Regions from separate parts of the Homo sapiens genome. Here regions 2, 3, 4 and 5 are each linked to region 1. The links are contacts of gene promoters, found by promoter capture Hi-C in blood cells and fetal thymus (Javierre and others, 2016). All regions are on one chromosome and are shown on one strand. Each heading gives the region's core, a stretch centred on a gene start or on the middle of the fragment in contact. The rest is flanking DNA. Distances are from core to core; before and after follow the strand shown. Region 1 holds the start of HACD4 (3-hydroxyacyl-CoA dehydratase 4). Region 2 has its middle 260 kb from the start of SLC24A2. Region 3 has its middle 93 kb from the start of MIR4473. Region 4 overlaps MLLT3 (MLLT3 super elongation complex subunit). Region 5 overlaps MLLT3 (MLLT3 super elongation complex subunit).

Region 1 (5,418 bases), core at 1,625-4,124:
CCATTAATGCTGACTCCTATATAAGTGGTTAGCCCTCTACAAAGTGTGTCATTTACATATTACTTCTTAAAGGGACCAAATAGAGGCTTGGGGAATATAAAATTTGTATTTCACTTACTAGTAGTCTCCAGTTACCTCAAACCTGGGGAATAATACAAACACTGGAAGAATTTGATTCATTCCTGATTTCTCTGCATAAAATGTTATGCTGAGATTTCCTCAAAACACTAGAAATCTGCTAAGGTTTGGTACAGAATGGAAAAGGAACAATGAAATGATACCACCTCAGTGCCATCCATCTCTTTTTTGAGGCAAACTGCCAACTCAGGGGGAAGCCAAATCCCTTTCCCTTACTTATCCCACCTTCCCCCTTCCCCAAGAAGGTTTTGCAATAAACATGGTTGCTAAAAAATACAAATTTTAGAGAAGGATATTAGAAGGTTGAGGTGTGTAGAAATTTAATATAAGCAGGATGAGGTGAAAACAAGGATTAAAAGTTAAAAATAAAAAAACTGTTTCGGAGTTTTACCTTTTCCAAATGAAAAGAATCTGACTGTCATATTTGTAAATATCCAAGAGTGGCCACAGAACTGGATTAAGTAATAGATGAAAAGATACGCATTCTTCCTATACCTATAAATACAGGAAAATACCATTAAACACTTCTTTTATAATCATCCTTTCATCACTGTACACATGCCCTTTAATGTACTGGCCAACCTGAGAAAGCAAAAGAAAACTGTTTCATATCAGTCTTTTATCTGGTTACCCCCAAGTACATATCAGATTTTGAAGGGAGCCATAACCTACACTACCCGCTAAAGTAAATACAGATGCTTCTTCACTTATGATGAAGTTACGTCCTGGTACACCCCATCAGCTGAAAATATCATAAACTGAAAATATCATAAGTTGAAAATGCATGTAATACAACTGATCTACAGAACATCACAGCTTAGCCTAGTCTACCTTAAACTTGCTCAGAACACCTACATTAGCTTACAGTTGGGTGGAATCATCTGGCAACACAGTGCACTGTGGAGTACCGGTTGTTTACCTTCCTGATCATGCGGCCGACTGGGAGCTGCGGCCTGATGCCGCGGCCCAGCATCATGAAAGGATATCATACCTGCACATCGCTAGCCTGGGGAAAGATTAAAATCCAAAATTTGAAGTACGGTTTCTAATGAATACATATCATTTTCACACCATCACAAAGTTTAAAAAATTGTGAGTCATGGACCATCTGTATAGTGAGTTTGCTTAAAACCAAATATAGTGCTTTTTCAAAATCTGCTTTCATCTTTGATAAAGTTCTAACCTTGCTGCTCACCAAGGAATAAAAGAAACCACTGCGAAGGTGGCTTTGAATATTCTTTAAAAAAACAAAACAGGCTGGGCGCGGTGGCTCAGGCATGTAATCCCAGCACTTTGGGAGGCCAAGGCGGGTTGGATCACTTGAGGCCAGAAGTTCAAGACCAGCCTGGCCAACATGGCAACTTACAAAAAAAAAAAAAAAAAAGCCGGATGTGGTAACGTATGCCTGTAATCCCAGCTACCTAGCTGCTCAGGAGGCTGAGGCAGGACAATCACTTGAACCTGGGAGGTAGAGGCTGCAGTGAACCGAGACAGCGCCACTGCACTCCAGCCTGGGCGACAGATCAAAACTCTGTTCTCAAAAATAAATAAAAAATAAAAAACAAAACAACAACAACAACAAAAAATCCATGTGTGCAGAGTGGTTGACATGTCACTATGTGTTCCAGTAGCTCAGCTTGCTAAGTGCAGAACTTGAGACACAGTGTTTTAGTTCTGAAGGGGGGTAGGGATGGGAGTAATCCAAATGTTGGGTAATTCAGTAATTGGACACACCTGACTTTTGAACACATTATGTGATTGAGGTTAGTATTAACATCTTGCCACTGCCTATTAACATTTTGCAAGGGTAGATAGTTTCCTTCATCAGATACATATCGAAAGCAGTTTAGTTGCTCATACCAGAAGAGGGAAGTCAAGCTGGGTTTAACAATGTGTTGTGAGTTGCTGGGGAGATGACTAAGAGAAGATTGACAGATAGATGGTTTGAGGGAGTTAGGAAAAGCACTGTTTGAAATGTTCCCTGGGAGTTCAGAAGAGTGACGGGAGTGGCCCTGCCAGTGTGGTCAAGATTTACTCCTCCTTGAAGATGTGAAACCTCCTAGAAACAAGGAAAATAAGCTGGGAGGCAGAATGATTTTTATTTGGGGACATCCTCCCCTATAAAGGCAGGAACTGCTAAAGGGTTTGGGAAGAGGAAATCCTCCTTCAGCTTGTATCAGAATTACCTGGCTTGTGGGTTAAACATATACACCCCCAGGCCCTACCGCTATATGACTGAATCTGTTCCCCGCCGGAACTAGGCCCTGAAATCTATACGTGTGATAGGTGTTTCCACGGCTGTTACATCTAAAAATCACCCCGCAACTCTGCGTCTGAGAAAGTCAAGAGAAGGCTCCTGGGGGGAGGGAAGTACTGGCAGAGGGCTCACAAGGGCAGGGGTAGCCATGCAGCCTGTCCTTCCCATTCAACTGTAAAATGGAGAAAATAACAGAGCCTGCTTCCTAGGGTGGTCAAGAGGGGTAAGTTAGCAAATACCTGCATGAGCTCCAAGGGGTGCCTGGGCACGGTAGCGCTGCGCCTTGCTGGCGGGCGGGGGGTGCCGCCCGCCCGCCCGCCGCAGAGGGGAGCTCCCGCCTCCAGGCCCTCCACCCGCGCCCCCTCCCCTCGGGATTCGGCCGAGCGCCCTACCTGGGCTGCAGCCAGGCGGGCAGCGCCAAGGGCCCCATGGGCCGCCGCCGCCAGGGCTTCCAGCGCGGTCCAGGAAGGAGTACCGGGGAGGAGGCAGGGGCGGCCCCGCGGCTGGGCGCGGAAGGGCGGGGCCTCTCCACACTCAGCAGTTTACAAAAAGAAAAAGCCCGAGGTCGTGCGTTGGGGAAGAGATGAAAACGAAGTTCTCGAAGTTTCTGCAGCACTGCTAGAGCGCGTCAGGGCGCAAGGCTGGGAGGCGGCTCGCGTTCCCGGTGGGGTTACCAAACTCTGGTTACAGCTTCCTAATCTTTGTGTTGAGACCCCCTTGCAAGCCTTCTGGAAATTAATGCATCTGGGCGATTTCCGGGGCCTCCGAACTCGCTGAAGCCCATCCCCAAACCTCCCGAGATGAGTGGATTCCAGGGTGGGCTCTGCTCAATGCCCACCGGTGAGCCAGGTTCAGACACGAAGCTTGTGCCGGGCGCAGTGGCTAATGCCTATAATCCCAGCACTTTGGGAGGCCGAGGCGGGAGGATCTTTTGAGCCCAGGAGTTCGAGACCAGCCTGGGCAACATAGCGAAAACGCGTCTCTACTAAATGTACAAAAATTAGTCGGGCATGGTGACGCGGGCCTGTGGTCCCAGCTACTCCAGAGGCTGAGGTGGGAGGATCGCTTGAGCCTGGGAGGTCGAGGCTGCAATGAGCCAAGATCACGCGGCTACACTCCAGCCTGGGTAACAGAGCGAGATCCTGTCTCAAAAAATAAATAAAAATAAAACGAAGTTTGTAGCACACCTCCCCAACACTTTTTCAGCTAGGGGCCTGATTCCTCTTCTATCAGGCCTCCCTGCTCTCTAATCTCCCTTGGGTTCTCACTGGTGCCTGCAAATCTTTATTCACGTTGTGTTAATTTCTCTAGCCTATGCCCAGCACTGCTACAACCCCTTCGTGATCTCTCAGGCTTATGACATCACTGTCTCCGTACACAGATGACCCACCCTCCTGCTTTGCTAATAAGATCCAGCCCATCTTCAAGCTCCTCTGCCCAGAAAGGGAAACGTTAAAACAAAAACAGAAACATCTAAGAAGGCACTTGCAAGTAAGTGGGACAATGGCACCTGGTTTTGGAGTTGGAAGTTAGCGCCCCCATTTTTACCAAAAGGGAAGTTGAGGCATTAAAAAAATGTTAAGTCACTTGGCACAGGTCACACAATTGATAAAATGGCAGTATCAGAACTTCAAGGTTGGTGGGATTTCTTGTTTGTTTCCCATTAGGCCGTGGCTTCCTTTTTTCATAGTCCATTCCATTCACTATGCCTACCTCTCACCTCTACATTTCTCTGCACCTTCTCTCATACCCTGCCCTCAGTCGGAGGTTAACCCCAACTTTGTGTTTACCAGTCCCTTCTCAGACTCACTGCATCAGTAGTTAACCATCGCCTCTTCTTGCATCGTCATCCCCTCCTTTCCATTGGCTTTCACTGCACTTTAGGGACATAGACAACTCTCTCTTAGCATATAATTAAACATTGTATTCTTTCTGTTTCTCTCTCAATGGAATCTTCTAATAACTCCCTGCCTGCCTTCTCTGATCAGGTGCTTCTTTCATTTCCTACCATCTTCCTGTTCCATAATACCTTACAGTTTGACTCTCCTGACACTGCTCCGTCCGCGAGCATGTTAATTTTTCGCCGAATCCCTATCCTGTATCACCTTGCAGGATGATGCCCCACGGTCCTTGCTTTTACAGAACATTTGATCTAAAGGGTAAACTGGTGGCTAACCCATTATCAATGCTATCTCTGATCAGGTTAAGCAGCAAGAGAGAAAGTAAAGTCCCAGATGGCCTGCAGTGGGGCAGGAGGGAGAAGGTGGAAAGCCTGCCCAGAAGAATTGATCCTTTGTCACCAAACACAGCCCCTGCATCCACATCCTCATTGACAGGTCTGCTGCATTTTACCAGTTCTGTCTGTCTGCCATTTACCCCTGAAGTTCTACATATTCTACGTCTCTTGCCTTATGTCCCTTCTGTCTCTCTGGATGGGTCTTCTTCTCCTGCTGTATTTCCTCAAAAGTCTGCCCTTAGTCACCATCCATTTGTCACCATGTTATCCCTCAGCATAGACAACCACACATGGCTTTATCTCCATGTGGACAACTTTTGACTATTATTTTCAGCCCTTTCTTCTTTTATGAATACTATCTCTGGCCTTTGAGCAGCTTTTGGATATTTCCTCATGAAAGTCCTATTGTTTGGACTATCTTTGGAACGTCTTCCAATTCAACCTATTTAAAATAAGCATACTATCTCTCTTCCTAAATCATTATTTCCCACAGAAAGACCACCATTTTTCTAGCCACTTGATTTTAAATTGGGGAGTCATCATTAAGCACCCCATCCAATCAAATTCGATTGATCCCATCCTTTCCAGATCTCCTACTAATCAGTAGTGTTCTTTGTCCATTCCTTATTTTCCAGTACCTGGGTGAGGAGTAATTGGCCTCCCTCACATCCATTCTTTACATCATAACTCAGTTGACTTTCTGGAGCGTCTTGGGTTATATCTTTCTGCTGCACAAAAAGAGGCCCTTTTTAGTTGCCAAAAAAGAACAAGCCAATCAGTCGAAAAA
Region 2 (5,418 bases), core at 1,441-3,940, 990 kb before region 1:
GCATGTGCATGCCCAGCCAATGGCCTGGGATAAACACAGCCAGGCTTTCTGACTTGGAACATCCACCCAGGACAGGGGTTTTGTTTCCAAAGAACAAAACCAGCCTTGTATCATCAAAATCAGTGGTGGGGAGGGAGAGAGGGCAGTTACGATAGAGGAAAGACATGGACCCAACCCAACAAACTGCTTCAGGGTCTGCCTCATACATATGAAGGAAAATTGATAGTATTTGATAGGAGGTCTGCTCAATTCAGCCAAAGGAAAGATGGGCAGGGCTCAAAAACACTGCTGGAGAAGTTGGTATCTGGCCAAATGGCTAAGTAGCCAGTCGGGGGTCTAAGAAGCACATGCACAGAAGGGCTTTGAGCTCTGCCTCTTGGCAGGATGCCCACCCATCAAGTTCTTCCAGAGTGGGGAGTTGGCAATGCGCACTCCTAATCCCAGAAGCACTTGACAGGTAGGCTTGCTGCCGAGAGCCCCCCTTTCTGTCCCCTCAGGTGCCAGACTCTGCACTGTGGCCGCAGCAGCTACAAGCGCTACCATGAGACAAAGGAGAAGAGTCTGGCACCTGTGGTGGGGAGCCTGTCATCTTGTGGTGGGACATTTGCCTGGTACTTCCTGGCCTGGCAAATGTGCCACTGAGGGGAGCACTGTCCCTGGTGGGCAGACTGTGGCAGGAATTGGCTGGGGTCAAGAGGGCACAGCTCTGGAGATCTCCAACCTGCCATGAGTCCAGCACTTTCCAGAAGGCAGCCTCTAAGTATATTTAAATAATAAGCAGGAAGAAATGGTGGACATTTGTGGTGTCTAGGGAAAGGAAAAGAACAACTTCACTTAAAGATACAGTCACAAGAGAGAAATCTGAACTGAGTGTACACCCCTGAGGAACTCTGGAATATCTGAGAAAGCATCAAGGATTTCATTTGCATAAGGACATCTGAGCCTTCTGGAAGAAATGTTATAGAGGACTTTTAGAGCTGACAGCTTGATTCTGCAATCCTAGATCTAAGATTTCTGAAGTAAGAATGAAAACCAAAGTTATCTAACCCTAGGGGACTGAGTCATGGGAGAAAGCACCCACCAAGGTAGGGGTGAGAGGACATGGCCTTCCTTCTGGGTCCTAGGCCTTATTGCTAAGGGACATGTTCATTTATCCTTCCAATATTCTCCTTTTCAGTAGCAGAGAATGCAGGCATACCTCCTTTTATTGTGCTTTGCTTTATTGCACTTTGCAGGTAGTGTGTTTTTTACAAATTGAAGGTTTGTGGCAACAATATCTATGTGCCATTTTTCCAACAGCATGTGCTCACTTCATGTCTCTGTGTCATGTTTTGATAATGCTTGCAATATTTCAAACTTTTTCATTATTATTTTATCTGTTGTGGTGGTCTGTGACCAGTAATCTTTGATGTCACTATTTTAATTGCTTTGAGGCACCACAAGCCATGCCCATGTAAGATGGAAAACTTAATTGATAAATGTTATGTGTATTTTAATGGCTCCAATGACTGGCTTTTCCCCATTTCTCTCCTTCTCCTTGGGTCTCCCTATTTCCTAGACACGATATGGAAATTGGACCAATTAATAACCCTACAATGGCCTGTAGGTGTTCAGGTGAAAGAAAGAGTCACACACCTTTCACTTTAATTCAAAAGCCACAAATGATTAAGCTTAGTGAGGAAGGCATGTCGAAAGCTGAGACACGCCAAAAGCTAGGGCTCTTGCACCAGTTAGCAAAGGTATAAATGTAAAGGAAATGTTCTTGAAGGAAATTAAAAGTGCTACTCCAGTGAGCAAAAGAACGAAAAGAAAGTGAAACAAACTTATTACCTATATGGAGATATACAGAGTGATGAATGTTGTTTTCTTGCCTGCTAACACAACACCCATTCTGCAGCCCATGTGTCAAGCAGTAATTTTGACTTTCAAGTCTCATTATTTAGAAAGTACATTTTGTAAGGTGATAGCTGCCATAGATAGTGATTCTCTCTGATGGATCTGGACAAAGTATATTGAAAAGCTTCTGGAAAGGATTCACTATTCTGGATGCCATTAAGGGCATTTGTGATTCATACCAGGAGATCAAAACATCAACATTAATGGGAGTTTGGAAGAAGCTGATTCCAGCCCTCATAGATGACCTTGAGAGGTTTAAGACTTCAGTGAGAAAGTCACTGCAGATGTGGTGGGAATAGTAAGAGAACTTGAATTAGAAGTGAAACCTGAAGATGGCACCGAATGGCCACAATCTCATGACAAAACTTGAACAGATAAGGAATTGCTTCTTATGGAGGAGGAAAGAAAGTAGTTTATTGAGATGCAATATGCTTCTGATGAAGTTGCTGTGTTGAAATGATGAAGAGGATTTAGAATAAACTTAGTTGATAAAGCAGTGGCAGGGTTTTGAGAGGACTGACCGATTTTGAAAGAATTTCTACTGTGGGTAAAATGCTATCAAACAGTATCACATGCTACAGAAAAAAATCTTTCATAAAAGGAAAAATCAATCAATGCAGCAAATTTCATTGTTGTCTCATTTTAAGAAATTGCCAGAGCCATCCCAACCATCAGCAACCACTACCCTGGTCAGCAGCCATCAACGTCAAGACAAGACCCTCTACCAGCAAAAGATTATAACTCACTGAAGGCTTAGATGATCACTAGCACTTTTTTTTTTAGCAGTAAAGTATTTTTTATTGTGTATATTTTGAAACACAATGCAAACTTTTTATACATAATGGTATTCCACACTTAATAGACTATAGTGTAAACGTAACTTTTACATGCACGACGAAACCAAAAAATGTTGGTGACTTGCTTTATTGTGATGGTCTGGAACCTGAACCTGAAATATCTCTGAGGTATTCCTGTATATGCTAAGCCTTAAAGCCTAAAGGTCTGCAATCACAAAAGACAGAACCTACCATTTCTGCTCTGAAAAGAGCAGTATTTGTGAGCACAGGATCCCCGAACCACCATGAACGCATGGGGAGGGCAGGGAGGATGTTTAGTTTCACTTAACATTGGGAGGCAGGGTTGTGCTCATGGCTGTGGAGTTACCGCTCATTCCATTCCTTTTGCTGGGTCAAGGAAACCAGGATATCTAGGTGGAAGATTCTGGGCTTGGGTCCTCACTGGGTCCTTGGGACAACGCATATTTTATCTCATCTAATCAATTGGGGATAAAAATTATACAATGACCCAGATCATAAAAGAAAACTGATGTGGAGCTATAAAGCTCCAAAGAAATGCAAATTGTTATTTTCTGCTACAGTGTTAGAATTCTGATTATCCTATTTTTTTGTTTGTTTCTTTGTATATAGGCCCTAATGCTACCATGCACACAGTATCACTAAGTCATTAAGCTTCCATAATACTCAGTGAAGCAAAAATTACCCCCAACCACTCATACTTGGTTGTTTTTAGAGTGACTCAGCACAGGGTGAGCACATGACTTACACAGGTTACATCTTCAAGTGTTAAGATTTATCTGGTATGTGGCTGTCAACAATACTGGGGACCATTTGAGAGCAGGAACCATCTTTTCTCTTGCTGCCTGACTAGCTTCTAGCACAGTGTCTGGTATAAAGTTAGTGCTCAGTATATTTTTGTTGTATTAAATAAAATGTATCAATTTAGGTGCTTTAAACATTTCTATACATGGATCGTATAGATATACTATGCATTTGGCAAAAATTTATTGAGAACTTACTATATGCTAGACCCTGTGCCAGGCACTGTGTATACGATGTAAAAAGGATGCTTGCAGCCTAGTGGGGAAGACAGACCTCACCAAATGATCGCATTAATAAACACAGAATTGCAAAAGAAGCACAGATTTCTCAGAGAGCGTGTACAAAGCAGCTGATCTACTAGGTGGGGAGTCTCCCTAAGGAAATGATACTTCAGCTAAGACTTGAAAGAAGAGTGAGAATTAATATGGTTAAGTAGAACACAAAAAAGGAACACCTTATTATTATTATTATTATCATTATTTTTCAAGACAGAGTCTCGCACTGTCGCCCGGGCTGGAGTGCGGTGGCACAATCTTGGCTTACTGCAATCTCTGCCTCCCAGGTTCAAGCGACTCTCCTGCCTCAGCCTCCTGAGTAGCTAGGATTACAGGCGCCCGCTACCACGCCAGGCTAATTTTTTGTGTTTTTAGTAGAGGCGGGGTTTCACTATGTTGGCCAGGCTGCTCTTGAATTCCTGACCTCGTGATCTGCCTGCCTCGGCCTCCCAAAGAGCTGGAATTACAGGGGTGAGCCACTGCACTGGGCCACATGTTATTAATACTATGTGCCACACACTGTTCTGCTGGCCGTCCATGCATGCTTATATCATTCTCACAATGATCCTGTTTGGAACTACTATGAGTGTGCCTAATCATACGGTGAGAAAATCAAGGTGTGAGCGGTCAAGTGTCTTGCCCAAGAGCCAGTGAGTGATGGGTTTGAACCTGGTAGGCTGGTTCTAGAGCCACACTCCCCACATATGGAGAGAACAACTAGTGCAAAGGACCTGTGCCTTAGCAGGCAACAAAGAACAGGTCTACTCACCCCCAGGCTGGCCAGGCTCCTAGCTGCTCTCATATCAAAAGTCCCAACACTGACAGCTCTCCTTTCAGAAGAAGAATTCTGGTGAGTGTGGTGTCCTCATCTTGTTTCATCTGTAAGTTATCTTTCATGGTGCTAACACACACATGCTTGTGGAAGCCAAGGCACTGAGGCTGAATGGCCCAAAATAAAGACAAGTGCCCACTGTGTGGGGTGGCCAGCAAATATCTCAACACAGAGGCTTGTCAGCATCCATCTTCATACTGTCTAATTGCTTCTGAAGTAAGTAAGGAAAGAAAAAGAAAGGGACAGGCAGACAGGCAGACCCAGAAGGTTTCTCTGTTGCATCTGGTGACTGTAACTCACAGAGTAAGGAAGCACTTAGGCAGACAATGCCCAACCTTCCTCCAGATTGGCAATGCCAAGGGCTTTTTTATGGGCCCTTAAAATTGGTTATCAAAGGAAATGCAAATTGAGTTCATCTTTGTCTTGAAGCCATATGTCCTCTGGGATAAAAACAACATTTTTTTCTGTTAAGAATGCTATCCAGGATTTACTTGGTTACTACAGCTTGAGTGTGCACAATGTGTTCGGGGGGCAGTAAAAGGAGAAAGTGAACACTCAGAGTTACAAGTGAACCTCTATAGTCTTCAGAATGAGAGAAAAACAGTTTGCAACCTAAGAAGCAGAGATGGAAAGGAAACCTACTCTGTGGTGGGACACTGCCCACTTTTTCACAGTGGCCCTTACTCATCTTCCTTTATCCCCAGAGAATCTCATTAGCTATTTGATATTACTTATTGCCTTTCAATTTTTTAAGCAAAGTTTTTCTCTCCTCTTAAAACAGTTTTCTTCCTAGTGA
Region 3 (5,418 bases), core at 1,946-4,445, 710 kb before region 1:
ATATGGGAGATGTGAATCAGAGCAGCAGCAGAAAACTCCAGTCCTCTAAAAGAAAAAAGAGAAGAATGAGTCACAGAAGGCTTCCAGTTTCTGGCTCTAATCCCCTCCACAGGCACAGTTACATTAGTGCCTTTATATTTTGTAAGATGTTTCTGGGTTCTTAGAATTTATGCCCTTTTTCTTTTTTTTTTTTTTTCGTTTCTTTAAGCCAAGTTGACTGGTTTCTAGGTTGTCAGTTTTTTGTTTTGTTTTGTTTTGCAATTAAAACATCAAAACCTATACAGACACTGAAAACATGGTAAATCTCAACCTCCTATTGATTGTAACAGAAGAATAAAGGTGAGGCCAAAGCAACCGCTATCAAGCTTGAGATCAGCTTCCATACCTCTCCCCAAAGCAAAGCCATGTGCAGGGGAGAGGATGTCTATTACATGTGGGTGACCAGAGTACTTAGGGCAGCACAAAGTGGTAGTGGAGAGGAGGGGAGGGAGAGCTGGATGTAAGAGGCTCCCCCAGATAATCTGCCATGGCTGTTGCATTCGTTTCTGCCTTCATCCATTCGGTGTTGCCATAACAGAATTCCTGAGACTGGGTAATTTATACAAGAAAGAGGTTTATTTAGTTCACAGTTCTGTTAGCGGGAAAGTCCGACAGCATGGCACTGACATCTGCTGAGCTCTGGCGAGGGCCATGGGCTGCTTCACTTTCAGTGGAAAAGCAGAAAGGCCAGTGGTCACACACAAAGAGGCAGGCAAGAGGGGCTGGGCTCACCTATAACAATCGCTCTCTCTGGAACTATTCCCTGCATAGTGAGAGAGGTGATAGCAGCGTTACTCCAGGACCCAAACGCCTCCCTCTAGGCCTCTCCTCCCAACGCTGCCATCAGGGGAATCAAATGTCAACATGAATTTTGGTGGGGGCAACCCACGTCGAAACCATGGCAGTTTTCTCGGACTGACATAACAAAATGCCACAAGGTAGATGGCTTAAAATATTAATAATAGAAATGTATTGTCTCACAGTTTTAGAGGCAAGAAGTCTGAAATCAGTGCCACACGGGACATGCTCTCTGAAACCCAAAGGGGAGGATCCTTCCTTGCCTCTACCTGGCTCCTGGTGGTGGCCATCAATTCTTGGCATTCCTTGGCTTGCAGCTGCATTGTGACAACTTTTGTCTGTGTCATCAAATGGGGATCTCCCTGTGTGTCTCTGTCTTCCCATGGGTGCTCTCCTGTGTCTAAATTTCCCTTTTCTTCTAAGGATTCCGTCATTGGATTAGGGCCCACCTTAATGACCTTATCTTAACTTGATTACATCTGCAAAGATCTAACTCCCAAAAAGGTCACACTCACAGGCACCAGGTGTTAGGACTTCAGTATTTTTTGGAGGACACAACTCAACTCACAGCAGTGGTCACAGGGAAGAGGAACTACTGCTACTCACTGTGACGCTTATCATTCATCCAGGAAAACAGAAATCATGCTGAGAGTTTAAAGCAGAGGGGATTTGGTGCAGAGAAGAGGTAACAGGTGATAGGGAGGCTGAGAAGCCAAAGAGGAGGCAGCATACAACCCAGAGATTAGCAAGAGCAGAAAGCTGCTGCCATGCCTCAACTGCACAGACAAATTGAATGTCAGGGTTAGGCAAGACTTGGGGCCTGGGTCACCTACTAAGTGGAAATGAGGACCATGGCAGCTCTGTCAGGAGGAAATTGGAGCCAGGCAGGAGGAGAGAAAGAGGATAGAAATACCTGGGCTTCTTTCATCCTCCCACCCTCCAATCTCCTGCCAAGGCCTCAACAGGCCAGAGATCTGGCTGACACCGGAGATTGCAGGGATGGCCTCCTGACACACAGAGAGAGCAAGGATTGGGAGAGAATAGAGCTGAGGGCAAGCAGCCCAGGCCTGGCCTAATATCCACTGTGCATGAGTCTTTAAAGTCTCACAACTTAGGATGTGAGAATTACTGTTCTAATCTTACAGAGATGCCGAGACTGTGAGAGTGTCAGTAGCTCACTCCAGAGCGCCAGCTCCGAGATCCATTCCAACTTGGGTCTGCACATGTGGTGGCTCTAGGGGCTGTGGCTCCTTCCCCTCCACGTTTGTAGGTTCCATTCTGATTCCTTCTTGCCTCTATCTGTGCTGTCCCTAAATACACAGGCCCCATACAAACAAACCACATGAGGGAAAGCCCTCCTGTAAGGGACCCAGTGGACAAGGACAGACTCAACAACCACTGGGTCACCATCGATATTTCCTCTCTTGCCCTTTGGGCTTTTGCTCAGATCTCAGGCCATACCTGCTCCCTCTCTGACTGCCCCTCTCCCTCTGTGACCTGGCCCTGTAAACATCCTAACCCTGCTTCCCTGGTGAACTTCTTTTTCATCCTCGAGACCTTATCCTAGTCAACACGTTTTCCAGGAGGCCTTCTCTGGCCCCTCAGACCAGCCCACCATGTGCCCCTTGGCTGCAGGCAATTCCTCTTTCATTATCCTCATGCGCTTTGTGATTTGGGGCCTGGTGGGACAGTCTGCTGAACCATTCATTCATGGGTGTTCTGTGGTTCCATTTCTTCATTTCTACCAGGTGCCTGGCTTTGCATTCCTTTGCTGCAGGGATTTTTCCAGAGAGAAAGTGGAAGCTGAAGGAAGACATTGTTCTTCATGTAAAACACCCAGTCCTTTGCAGGCAAAGCAAAGGGTGAGAGCCCTTCCTTCGATGACAGGAAGAGAGGAGAGAAATTCTCAAGGTGGATGACGGTAGACAGATGCTGAGCTTAGCAGAGACCAGACTGAAATGTAACCAAGTGTTAGTGGAATACTTTTCCCCTGAATACATTTACTAAAAATTCAGCCTTTTAAACAATTTTTTGTTTTGAGTTGGTGTCTTCCTCTGTCACCCAGACTGGAATACAGGGACACAATCATGGCTCACTACAGCCTCAAACTCCTGGCCTCCAGAGATCCTCCCACCTTGGCCTCCCAACATGCTGGGCTTTTTAACAATTTTAAGTCATATGTTGACATGGCTGCTGTTAAGAATATGACAGATGATAGAGGAAAGAAATTGGACAATTAAGTGCCCAGTCTCCTATTAGAAGTTGGACAAGAGTACCTACTCCCCTATCATCCAAGGGTGGCTCAGGCCCTATTCTGCAGACCACCCCCTCCCCTCCCTGGTTAGAGCCTGCCTGTGTCTCCGACAGAAGTGTGCCTAGGGAGCTGTGAATATTCCTCAGAGAGATGGCCAAGGCGTGCACCTGAGGACGCCAGGGCCTTGTCATGGACTTTCCAGCTCAGGTGGACATTCATATACCCACAGGTCACACTGACACAGCAGAACACACTGAGCTGCCTCACATCTTGGCCTGCTTGCCCATCTGGAGACTGAGGTAAAATAGAGATGTTGGCAGCAGCTATGATGGACCAGAAACCAGAGGCCCTTCCTGTGTTTTCAGAATCCTCGTGAAGGCCCTGGGCTTCTGGTGCAAAACTAGGAGTTGGAATTTCCTGCTGCCCTGGCAGGATGAGAGCTTAGAGTCAGCTTTGACTTAAAGAAAACAAACAAAAGTGTGTATTTTTGCACATGAATTGTTGACTGAGGTTCATGCCCACACGATTTGTTTAACGTGTGACTTTTCCAAGTCCCTGACAGCCAAGACTGCCTGAACTCACGGCCCAACGCCCCAACGCATAGTAAGTGCTCGGTCAATATTTCCTGAGTCGAGTGAATGGGTAGTTTTGGAAGTCAAATCTTGGAAGAGCATTTCTCTGTTTCCTCCGGGCAGACCCTGCAGGCATCAGCTCCAGGAGGCATTCGTCCTGACGGTCCCCTAAACCCTGCTGACACATGAGCAGACACTGCACAACTGCACTGGCGGTTTCTGTCCAGACAGGCACTCCCTCTGTGGTGAGAAATACCTCTGAAGTTGCCTAGCATCTTGGGGCTCCTTGCCCATCTTTAGAATTTTCAAGTGCCCCAAGCTATTGTGAATGTGTTCAATGTTTATATTCCAAGCAGCTTGAATCTATGCCTTGCAAAAATGCAAGTTGGAAAGTTAATTCATTCCTTTATGTCAAGGTAATTGCAGTTTCACCCTAATCCTCTCTTGTCAAAGACATTTCTACAATGCAGGGAGTTATCTTTTACAAGAGACACTTCAAGGTGATTTAATAACAACACTTGCTATGAGTCACATTTTCCCTGTAGTCATCTACTCTTCAGCTTGGGAGAGCAGGGCTTCAAGTACAGAAGAGAGAAGGCATTTGGCTAGTCACATAACCCACTTACACACGCTCAGCCAAATGTACACCTTCAAGAGAAAAAGAAAGCCCTAATGAGCACTTGTGGTAACTAAGGTGCTAAACGAGATCTTTCCAAGCAATGCTATTTTTGTTTGTTTGCTTTAGGGCAAGCTATATTCACTCAGTGCTTTGAAACTTAAGACACGTATGAATTTCATGACTGCGGACAAAGAGGAAATTTGATATGGAGATTAATTATTAATTCAACATTTACTGAGCCCCTACTATGAGCTGTGCTAGGGGCTTGGCTACAACAGCACACAGGCTTGCCTGCCAGCTGCCCTCACCAAGCTAGTGGTCCAGCAGGACTGCAGATGTCAAACAAATAACAAAGGCCAAAGATGTCTCTTTCTCTCTCTGTCTGTGTCTCTTTTAAATGCAAAACTATAAATTTATTTTATATACTCCTTTTTACTTCATCTGCATGATAAAAGGAATACAGATGTATTTTTTAATGTAACCAAATTCCCATCTCACTGCGCAGTAGGAAAAAGTCTACCCACTCCTCACAGTTTCTAGTTCTCCCCTCACAGTGGAGCTCATCAAAAGGCAGAGGACATTGGCTGGGACGTGACCAGGTTTCAGGCAATTTGGGAGTGAAAGGCCAGCAGGCAGCTTTATCTTGAAGACTGTTCAGCTCCACAGGGTGACAGATTCTCCCACCAACCATGTCTCTGTCAGCCTCAGCCCAAGAGAAAATTGAGCTGAATAAGAGAGGTCTCAGTGGAAATTATATTGGAAAGACTCACCATAATGGCTTCCTGAAAAAAATACATAAACAAAACACATTTTTCCATCCAAATTAAACAAGTAGGTCAAGAGGGCAACTTTGCCAAGTGCCACTTACTCCCACCTCCAGCTGGAATTTTCTGGGCATGCCAGCACTGGTGTTACTTGCCGTAGGCAGATTCTCTACCCATACTTACAAAAATCCACACCAGCTACTTCTGATGGAGTTCTTAGCGTGCCTCTTTCAACTGGATTTCTAAACAAGGAACAATGTAATTGGCAGGTAATAACAGGCTAACAGGATTGTCTTAACAGATACTGGTGCCTTTTCAGTTCAGACTTTCACCAGCCAAGAGGTTCTATACAAAAGATCCACACATCAGAGC
Region 4 (5,418 bases), core at 1,923-4,422, 680 kb before region 1:
CCTCTGATTCTCTTTAGGTCAATAATCTTAAAAAAGAGAATAATTTTAATTATTGAGCCTATCATTTATTTAATGAAGTTTTAGATTACCTAATGCCACGCTGAGTAACAGCAGAACTGAAACTTTTAACCTTCTCTTCTTACAATTAGCTTTCTTTTAAAAAATACAGTAAATTTGTGAACTACTCCCTATAGGTCAGTGGCTCTTAATAGAAAATGTGCTCCCCATTCCTGACATATTATTTGACTTTCACAGAAGCATGACATATTAACTCTCAATCCAATTAACTGCTCAACTCCAGATTGAGCTGTTATTGTCTTACCCAATCTCTGGAACTATTTTTTAGGGATATAACTACAGCCTTAATATTAAAATAAGCTACTCTCATAGTGGATGCAACAACAGATGCTGCAAACTAACTCCCTAATATCGATTTATTCCTTAATTTTTTTTTATTAACGGAAGGCCGTTTTTCTGAGAGCTGCCCAACTACAATGTTTGCCTCCCCAGACCTACTTGCAGCACTTGTCAGATGCTGCTATTTACAATTTATTTGTCAGAACTCACTGTTTTCAGGAATATTTCTGAAAAGGGTATGGACAATGGGTATGCATCTTTTGCCTTCTTTCCTTCTTCCTGTGTGCAATGGGAATGCAGTGCTTGGAAGTGCAGCAGCTGTCTTCCCATTAAGAAGACGAATACAGCTTATGAAAGATGGAAGAAAAGAAAGACAAGGAGCCTGTGTCATCAGTGGCATCTTTTAAGCCACTATCTCGACCACGGATTACTTACCTCCAGGCTTACTGTTATAGGTGGGGAGGGAGTCAGAAGAAAACCTTACTTGCTTAAACCACTAGACTCAAGGTTCTGTTACATGCATCAAGAAATTCTTAGAAGGAGTGTACCCAATTATGGTTAAAGTGCTACATTTATGTAAAAATGTATCCAACAAGATCTTATTAACACTAAAAGATCTAAAATGGACACACATTTGTTTTATTAGTTATTAGTAACAGAACTTTCAAGAAGTCTTCCACACATATCCACACACATACAGAAACACAAACACACAGCTATGCCCACAGAGGCTTTTCATGTCAATCATATACTTACTATATAATTAAGATCAATTGAACTAAGACTATGTATTTTCTGGAATAATTTTTTTTTGCCATTTTGTGCAAAAATACTATGAATCTAGTGAAAATGTGTAAATTTCAGGATGGAAACAAGTAGTCTCTTTAGAGCTATTATAATTTCAAATTTATGCAATGGAGGCAAATAACAAGCTGACCAGAATTTGACTCCTTTCCTCAGCGAGCTGCCCAGTAGGTAATTGACAAAGCATTCAGAATAGAGTTCTGGATCTGGCATATCAAGTTCTGACTCTGCAAACTTTTTCAATGGTATTAGACAGAACATCATAACCTTTGAGCCTCAGTTTCCTCATCTGGAAAATGAGAGTAATGCTACCTGTTCTACTTGTACAAGTTTGGGCAGATGATCAAATAAGGTATCATAAATAAAGCTTCTTATAAATGGTAAATTGCTACCTAAGTCAGGATAACATGATTATGATTACCTTATAAACTGATCCTTAATTATCTGGGAGGTGACTAAACTGCACATGAATTATAGACCTGATGCTTTTTCCTCTCGCCCCCAATGAGTGTTAGCCATTTCATTAGCACTAAAATAAATGAGGCAAGAAAATGCAGAAACTAAAACTCAGAAAGGCCGGCTTGAATTAAAAAAAAAAAATTGTAACTCATTCTTTTAAGAAAACAGTTTTCCACGACCCAATATAGTTGTTCCCTAATTATTTAATAACAAATAGAAAACTGGGCAATAAAAAAATCCCTTCTAGAAAAAAAGCCACTTAATTTTAAAGCATATAAACACTTTTGCCCACTAGAAACGTCAGCCCGGGCATTTCTCATGCATTGTGCTATCTTGCAGATCTCCAGTACTTCCATCACCACCCGCTACCTCCTCTATCACCATGTTGTGCCCGGCCTGCAGCCACACATGCACAACAATATAAAGGGGATCTGATAAATCTAACTAAATGAGCCCCACGTTTTTATGAGAGCCCACAAGAATACATCAAGGTAGATGCAGAGAAACAGCCTTAAAGTAGTAGCAGTGGCAGCAGCTGGGGAGTTGGGAATTATTTGCCAAAGGGAATGGCATTAATGATTTGAATTATTAGAGCATGTGCCCACATCCTCATTTAAGTAAGGGCTCCATAAAGAAAAATAAGTGTGCATTGCTTTCCAGGAATCCTGATAGTTAGAACGTCAGAAACAACATTAACATGCTTTATTCCATTGACACAGGCCACAAAGCCTGAACACACCCCATGAGTGCCTGAAGAACTCCACTGTGCCTTTCTACAGGAATACCCTCTTTGCTGATGCAGTGTGGCTTGACCTTGACGTCATTACTCTGCATCATAGTGCAATAATTAACGTCTGTCCAAAATAATAATAATAGTAGATAGAGTGACTGCAGATAAGAAAAACAGGCGGCCGGGCGCGGTGGCTCACGCCTGTAATCCCAGCACTTTGGGAGGCCAAGGCGGGCGGATCACGAGGTCAGGAGATCAAGACCAACCCGGCTAAAACGGTGAAACCCCGTCTCTACTAAAAATACAAAAAATTAGCCGGGCGTGGTGGCGGGCGCCTGTAGTCCCAGCTACTTGGGAGGCTGAGGCAGGAGAATGGCGTGAACCCGGGAGGCGGAGCTTGCAGTGAGCCGAGATCCCGCCACTGCACTCCAGCCTGGGCGACAGAGCGAGACTCCGTCTCAAAAAAAGAAAGAAAGAAAAACAGGCAACCAGGTACATATGGGTAGTGGAAAAGGAAGAGTGTGTAAACTGCTTAACTCATTCTTCAGATGATGGTTGTTGTGAAAACATTCATGATGGATTATTTCCTGCCACATCAGCCTTTCAAGCGGTACTACGCAGGCTGTTGGATGTCTCATTTTGTTTTAAACAGGGTAAGATCCACTTGTCAGATCTGTGGCTCCCTTCCCCAATTTTTAATTATAAAAAGGTAAATGCATTGATTTTGGTCTGATTATAATTTCAAAAACCAGGGTTCTTTCCATGTGAAGCAGCCTCTTCGCTGTGTGGGGAGTAATGAACAGGCCTTACTTTAACTGCTTCTCTATGGAGTAGAGCCAGATCTGGGATAACATAGGTCTTCCCATAGAATGGCCTCTACTATGGTCTGGAAAGCACGGACAACCACCACATAAAAATGTGTGCCCTACCCTTGGTTAAGGGATAGGCCATCAGGCTCCAATCTACAAGGGGTGCTGAGATATGACAAGTAATTTCCCAGGATGGAGAACATCATTTTCATCAGAACATTTCTCAGGGAGGGTTCTCTGGGTTCTTAGAAGGAATATTCTAATACGCCACAGATTCCCCATTCCCTGCAGACAATTCGAAAAGAATGACGGCTGGCTTCTAAATTGCTAAACTACTCTCTTAGGAAACCTGGTTTCCCACAGAGTTTTCTTCCCCCAGACGTGGATGCAAATCCAGGCTTAGAGCTGAATTGCTGGGGAGGTTACATATGTTCAATCTCACTTTCCAAATAAATGTGGAACATGTGGTTTAAAGAGCAATCAAATTATTCATCAGTCCTAGGTAATCACTTCTCTTGGTTTGACTGTGTCTACTCTACTGTATTTATACCCTTTGAAAAAGTGGCTTAGGAACACAGGCTCCTTGATCCAATGCTGTCTGTTCATTAAACTAGCTGCCGAGTGCCAGGACTGCATGCCCCCAGAGGAAAACAAAGTTATTAACCGCTTTTTGTGAGCCAAATAAAATCGTCAGGCCAGATTTTTGGATAGGATGCATTTAACAGGAAAGGACCTAGATGTGATCCTGGGCCCACCAGAAATTCTGCTTCAGGTGTTCAAGTCTGCACGGCAGAGAATACGTAGACTTTGTGGAATGAATTCCATGAGATGAGCAGCCCTCAAGGTGGAGAATAACATTAGTCCTCAATAGTGCTATGTTTTACAAAAGGAATTAATTAAGCAGTAAACCGTGACAGGACATGCATCATGGTATCATAATCACAAGCCTCAGCTGCATTACAAGGCAAAAGGCCAAAGACTGAGAGCTTTCAACCGGCCTGGGAATGCAATTAGGGTGAAATGCTGTGTGCCCTGGAGTGCCTTTATGCCAGGTTAAAAATTCACAGATATTACTCTCTCCCTCTAGAATACTAAAATAATCCACTTGGATGGAGTTCTCCAGTAAGCCACCTTTCTTCGCAATTCTTATAAGGTCAAAATAAAGGACAACATTAAATTGCGAATGCCAATGACACCCCAAGGTAAGATCTGCCCAATGGCCTAGTATCCTTGACTAACTGATAGGGCTTTCTTTGTGAAGATGTCCCAACCCTGCACAAACATCTGTCCCACCCTCCTATGAGACTCACTATTTGGGCCCAGCTTGGGCATTAATAGCTTTATTGGACAATTGCTCCACAGTGGTTCAGAGCTGGTGTTTGGGAAGAGACGAGAAAGATCATGCAATAGATCTGCAATCAGCATTATGCCAGCCCCAAATATTTGGAAAATGACAGGTAAAACAACGTTCGGTTCTTCAAAAGAGGCCTAAGAAGAATATTAGCAAAGTACTAGACCACCACTCATGGTAGGCCACTTAAGTCCTGCTTCCTTACCCATACTAACTAAAAAGAAACTGCAAGAAATGCAACTTATCTGCAATTAAGAATCATAGGTCTGTAGTCTTTTGTTCAAATCTAAAATTCTACAAGGGTTAAAAAGCTTATCAGGCCAGTCAGGAAACTTGGCAAGTTTGAGAGTATATATTTATAGATGTAAGCAAAAATGTACACAGAATATAAATGTGACCACCAGCCATTAAATGTTAAAAAAAAAAAAAAAAACCCACACACAGCTGGGGTAGATTAAGTACTAACGTCAAGTCATTTGAAAGTAGTAAAAAAAAAAAGAAGAAAAAAATTCAAACAGCGAAACAATCTACATGTCTGCCCTGGAATTTAGAACACACATTCTTCTCTTTGGGTGTTAAAAAAAATTACCAATAGCTGCTGGTAGTGCAACAGAGGCATACATCATTAACTGAATGAAAATGAAAAACCACCCTTCTTATCTTCTCAAAACATCAAATTATACTAATAGAAGTTTCCCCACTCTACAAGTATTCCACTACAAGTATTCCACAGTTGAGTTCATAATAATAGAATGTATGTCATACAAGATAAGGGAAATGAAGAAAATATTTATTTTCCTTAGAATATCATTGGCAAAGGTTACTAAATTGAATCACAAATGTTTACAACACTTGACTCAAATTCTTATCACTGTTTTCCCATGAAACCAGAAGCCTGGCCCCAAAGC
Region 5 (5,418 bases), core at 2,146-4,645, 630 kb before region 1:
TTGCGTGATAAAAGTAATGCTAGTTGACAGAGGAGAAAAGTCATTATTGGATTTTTTCAATTATGTAGTAATTAGTCATGCATTTTTTAAGTGCCAATCTAACAAGAACAGGTAAAACTATTTTAAGAGCATAGAAAACTAAGAGTAACAAGAGAAAGTGATAACTGTAACTTGAGATATATTTATAACTAGCATTACCAATTTTTAAACATATATAATAAATTGGTTCTGATTATTTGATACTTGTCTTAAAAGTACTTCATCATTGATAAGATTTATCATTCTTGTAAAGCTTCATATCTAAAAAAGATTTACAGTCATTTTAATTATCCTTCACAACAACTCTTTCAAATCATTCAATGCCACCATCCCTGATTCTGATTCTTTCCATATGAGGAAAATGACTCATATGCAGTTTATAGAATTTTCACCTGTACAACACAGCAAGGAGCTGGCTGGATTCTCATATAGGCTTCTGGATGCAGGCTGAGACACCAAACACAGACACCCAAAGAAAAAGGTCCAGGGTTGGGGGGAGCATTGAGGGACAGGTACCTCCTCCAGAATTAGAATGAAGCTTTCGGGTATTTGCCACTTACGGAGGCAGGGAGGCAGAGCAGTTCTTCCGATCTGAACACAAAATAAGACACTAGCTGTGCAAAAAGAAGATGAGCCGCAGCTTTAAGAAACCCAGCTATGATTCTTCCTACCTAGACACTGAGCCAATTAGTGACCTGGCCCTGAGTTAGAGAATTAACTGTTTAAGGCTACTACAGTGTCTTAGTTCTGATAGTGCAGTAAGGAGGGGGCATTAGGGATGGTGATAAGGTAACTTAACTCAATATTCCCACTAGGTAAATTTGGGGTCCACAAAGGAGACATCATGTCTGGGTGTACAACTTTACTATCTGGAGGCAAGAACTGATCTACTCAGAATATGGAACTAGTTGTAACTTCCACCACAGAGATATCACCTTTTCTGGGGGTTACCTTTAGTCACAAAGTGTTAGACACTGGCTGTAAGATACACTTTGTAACAAACATGGAACGTATTTTTAAACTCTTTCTCAGAAAAGAAAATAAGGAATAAAATGCTGGAGAAACAGTATGGAGAAATAAGGCTTCCACAAAAGAATGACATGCCAGTAAACAGGAAATCTTGGCTTATTTCAACTTTTTAAAATGGGCCCATTTAAAAAGCTGTGCCCACCCTCCCCCACCAACTTCTTTTTTGATGGAGGGAGGTGTGGGAAGAGGTTTCCGTCCAAGGTGACCCATGTGAGAGAAGAGCAGGTGAAAGAAAGGTCCCACAAGAGTAAGGAAAGGGCGTAATCTCCCCTATGTTCAATGGTCACCACCTGTGAAGCTAAGCGTCAGAGGAACTAAACCATAGCGTCTCCCAAGGCAACAGATGGAGCAAATGAATTAGTCACTGCCCTTCCCAGGATGCTAGGCACAAAGCACTTTGGAGGGAAGGTGGTTAAGCAGCGCATCCTGCTGAAACAAACCTGACATCTGCTTAATCTTCTCCCCTGGCCTCCAACTCCATACTGGGTATTTCAAATGGGTAACAACTTGAAAGCTCCATGTGGACTTCTCTTTCATTATTATTATTTCAAACGCTAAATGTTATCTACTTAGGATCTTACTTTGGCTTCATGCCCTGGCAGAAGGCAAGATTTTTTAGCTAATAAGGGCCTGGAGGCTTTACAAGACCACAGGAGTTTTCAAAAATATTCCTACATATTCATAATAGTCAAATTAATAGATCTGATGCCAGATGTAAAGTGGCATTTTATGTGTAGCTTTAAAAGGTACTAATGGGGTAACTTTTAAAGCTACTTTAAAACATGCAGCTATGAATCTAATGCAAAACTGTTTTTGCCTTTCATGTTGGCTATGTGTTTACTGCTCTGTAATAAACTCATCAGAAAAAACTTGGCATCTTTCTCCCTGGATAGATATTTGGCATTCAGGAAAGAAATTTAGGTTAAACACCTTTTAGCTGTCCTTTCAGTAATAATTAAAAGCTTTTCCTTTGACTTAGTGACATGGTTCACAACCACATATAATGAAAGCAACATAAATCTTTCCTGTGTGGTACATTACATGCCCTCCGATAGATTAAAACATGCCAGCCAAGTCTGCACTTTTATAGGCTTTAAGCTGTTGAAGAGCCAACAAAAGTACTGATGGCAGAGCATCAGGTAAACAGGATGAAGGAAACCATCGGTAACAACTGTACTGTAGAATTTTCTGAATGCAGGATCCTGTGTTCAGGACAGCATAGGCTTGTTCTTGGAGAAAGCAGAATCCCTACCTTTAAATTCCCAGTTCTATTCAGTAGACAAGATGAAGCATAAAGGCAAAAGTTAACTAATACATACGAATACAGCATCTATAATGGCAATGTCACCTCATGAACAGAAACTATCAACTAAAAGGATAAAATGCCTACTATAAACCATATTTTCAGGGTTTTTTTTTTAAGAGAAAGTCATCTCTTTTAACATCTTGTGAGTAGCACTTTAAACTTTGGGAACTCTTTTACACATATAGTCCCCCTAACAATATGTGAAGTAAGGCATGGAAAGAAGGAAAGAGGGAAGACAGAAGGAAACTAGAAATATTCAGGTTCTACTGGAATTTACAGACTACCAACTATGTGCCAGGTACTTTTTACTACCCTTTGATTCACACAATTTTGTGAGCTATTATTCACATATCAGAGATTATAAAATTAAGATTCAAAGTTGTTAATAAGTATTTTGCCCCAGATCACAGAGCTAGTTAAACTGTCAGACCTGGGGCCCTTTCCCAGGTCTCAAGAGTCTTTCTGGGGTGTTAGTTTTTCAATTGGTTTATAAAACACAGTTTGTGTTCCTCACCAAAATATGGACAATCTGCTTGCCTGGGCCCAAAGTGCTATGGTTCCAAGCAGATTCCTGCACCACCTGGCATATATTTACAGGAGCACACAAGTTCAGAAGGGAAATGTTGGTGGGCGTAGATGCCGTCAAAGCTGACAGAATCTACAAACTCATCTAGAAAGAAATGCATGCAGGAAGTGAGGTATGTATGACACTGTCATTGATAAAATGGAATAATGGAAGAAAGAAAAGGCAACAAAGGGTGTTGTTGCTGGAGTAAGGCTTATCCTAACTCAAAAATCAAGGAAAAAAGAACCACAATCCAAGGTGAGGCACAATCAAGATTTCTGGCTAGTGGAGATCTGTCAGGTGAAAGATGCTAGAACTAGTTAAACACATACACACACTTTAAATATTTTGCTTTAACTGAAAATTTATAAATACACATTAATCAACCAATCCTTTGATGCAGAATCAAGCAGTTTTCAGTGGGGTCTGAAAAATCTTTCTTAGATAAATCACACTCAATGCATTATCTACGATCATCATTTATGAGCAAGAAGCCAGAGACTTGTATAGCTGTTAGAACGCAGGAGTCCTTCTAGAGTCTGATAATTTTTTCTGCCTTGGTGTTTTATACCTTATTTGAAAGCATATTTTTTCAAGGGATTCCCCATCAGGTTTCAACTTAGTTTTCATAGAAACAATTGCTTTTTGTACATTATTGGTTTCTAAAACATTTAATTAACATAATTAGAAGAACAACTGATACATATCTTTGGGAACAACTACATTGGCTTCTCAGTGAGTATAACGTTCAACTTTTGGGAGCAGAAGTACACAGTATAAGCTAGCACCCACCAGCGATTGGCAAGAGTGAGTATGCTTTTCAGGCGATTGGAGAGAATTGTTATCAGTGCAGGCTCATTACTTGAGCTTCTTTTGACTGCGGAACATGTAGGGCCCTATAAAAGCTGGGTAGAAAGGCAGCTCTGCAGGACCCATCAGCATGCAAATTACAACTTAGGGGATCTCCAGAAGTGAATACAGGAGGCAACCCATCAATCTATATTTACCTAAGTTTTAGGGTGTCTTAATAAGGTTTCAAAGTACATGTGCTGAGGCTATGCCTTTCCTTAAGAAAACAGAAGGTTGTGATAACATCTTCCTTTCTAAAATGATGACTGCTGTCTTTAGAGTTCATTTTTTTTCTCTTAATAATCTCAGCATCCCACAGTGATAAATTATATTTGGGTATAATTTTTGTCTCATAGATGTAATGGCTCTTTTAAAACCACTCTTAGAAATGCTACAGTGTATCCAATGAATATAATTAAATATATATGTATTTCCAAATACAAGTGCCAACAAAGACACAACTAAGACCCTAATTTTTAGGGGAACTAACTTCATCTTCCACATCTTGTTTCTGTCACTATGCTAGTGTTCAATATAACTCTCTTTCACAATACTTGCCCCTTTTAGTTAGAAACTTATATCTTTTGCATTTTTTCATTCATTCTTCTGCATATACAATGAATATTTTTAATTTTTAATTTTTTTTTATTTTTAGACAGGGTCTCACTCAGGCTGGAGTGCAGTGTTACAAGGACAGCTCATGCAGTCTTGAACTCCTAGGCTCAAGTAATCCCTCACCTCAGTCTCTCGAGCAGCTGGTGTGTGCCACCACACTCAGCTTATTTTTTAGTTTTTTTAGAGTCTCCCTTTGTTGTCCAGGCTGGTGTCAAACGGCTGGCTTCAAGCAGTCCTCCTGCCTCAGCTTCCCAAATGTTGGGATTACAGGCATGAGCTACATGGCTACAATAAACATTTAATTATACGGTTGTAGTTACTCAGATGTGATGGTTTAATAAATATTTAACAGCCAAATTAAGCTTATTAATTTAAAGCTATTCTGTCTTGACAATTATGCAACCTGAGGACACAGAAATTGGGGGAGTGGGGGAAGCAAGTCCCTTTTACACGGTATACAAGGGGCATTTTACCCGTTCCAATAATTTCAAGAGCACTGTAAACATTAGAGGGAATATAATCATATTTCACGATCACAAAGACAGCAAAAACAAGGTGGCCATATAACTTTCATGTTATCATGCCCCTGCACAGCCCCTATAGGAAATAGGGAGGCAGAAATTTCTTTCACTGCAACATCCTGTTATTGAAATTTCTCTGAAAACTATTTGCTTTTTTAAAATAGAGAAGCAAATGTCTCGGAATTTTAGACTCTGACATCCCTCTGCTGTCTCAATAAAAGATTAGTTTGTGGTCCTTGCTGCCCCTGTGTTATTTTTGTGGTTTAATACCCTTCACGGTGAAATCAGCTAAAAAACAAACAAACAAAAAAAACAACTCTCTTCTCTTTCTGTTGGAGTTTTCAAGAGCTACACACTCCTTGGCTGGCTTATGTACTCCAACACAAAGGCAAGGGGCTGCCCGGGCAGGTAAGAGTGAAATCCAATTTATGCAACTTGCTTACTGTGACCTCCAATTTATCCTAGGATTTTGTTATATAAACTTATTTGCATAA

What was found. Contacts are between HindIII fragments. The CHiCAGO score rates a contact against its expected background, and 5 or more counts as called.
Region 2: a fragment that was not itself captured here is called in contact with the fragment with the promoter of HACD4 in region 1 in 1 of 17 cell types (non-activated CD4 T cells); the score reaches 5.2 in non-activated CD4 T cells.
Region 3: a contact is called between a fragment that was not itself captured here and the fragment with the promoter of HACD4 in region 1, in 2 of 17 cell types (naive CD4 T cells and naive CD8 T cells). The highest score is 5.5, in naive CD4 T cells.
Region 4: a fragment that was not itself captured here is called in contact with the fragment with the promoter of HACD4 in region 1 in 2 of 17 cell types (naive CD4 T cells and erythroblasts); the score reaches 5.8 in naive CD4 T cells.
Region 5: a contact is called between a fragment that was not itself captured here and the fragment with the promoter of HACD4 in region 1, in 1 of 17 cell types (megakaryocytes). The highest score is 5.8, in megakaryocytes.

What each region holds. Positions count from the first base shown.
Region 1 is chr9:21,028,766-21,034,183 of GRCh38, forward strand. It overlaps HACD4 (3-hydroxyacyl-CoA dehydratase 4), which reads right to left and starts at 2,875. Exons shown (of 7, transcript NM_001010915.5): 1 at 2,788-2,875; 2 at 530-633. The coding sequence starts at 2,825. LOC105375989 (a long non-coding RNA gene) reads left to right here and starts at 2,877. Exons shown (of 3, transcript XR_007061435.1): 1 at 2,877-3,235; 2 at 3,707-3,886; 3 at 4,598-5,154. RefSeq lists a silencer at 2,651-3,010 and an enhancer at 2,654-3,214. The HindIII fragment of the contact is 3,612 bases long and covers 1-3,256 here.
Region 2 is chr9:20,041,450-20,046,867 of GRCh38, forward strand. It overlaps a transcript of SLC24A2 not described here. Among named protein-coding and RNA genes, the nearest start is that of SLC24A2, 260 kb to the left of the region's middle. The HindIII fragment of the contact is 1,345 bases long and covers 2,019-3,363 here.
Region 3 is chr9:20,315,887-20,321,304 of GRCh38, forward strand. No RefSeq gene overlaps it. Among named protein-coding and RNA genes, the nearest start is that of MIR4473, 93 kb to the right of the region's middle. The HindIII fragment of the contact is 5,665 bases long and covers 364-5,418 here.
Region 4 is chr9:20,347,785-20,353,202 of GRCh38, forward strand. All of the region lies in intron 10 of MLLT3 (MLLT3 super elongation complex subunit), which reads right to left. LOC124902129 (a long non-coding RNA gene) reads left to right here. Exons shown (of 4, transcript XR_007061434.1): 1 at 1-3,003; 2 at 4,247-4,361; 3 at 4,522-4,616. Among named protein-coding and RNA genes, the nearest start is that of MIR4473, 61 kb to the right of the region's middle. The HindIII fragment of the contact is 3,293 bases long and covers 1,527-4,819 here.
Region 5 is chr9:20,393,683-20,399,100 of GRCh38, forward strand. The region is part of intron 5 of MLLT3 (MLLT3 super elongation complex subunit); the gene reads right to left. Among named protein-coding and RNA genes, the nearest start is that of MIR4473, 15 kb to the right of the region's middle. The HindIII fragment of the contact is 2,735 bases long and covers 2,029-4,763 here.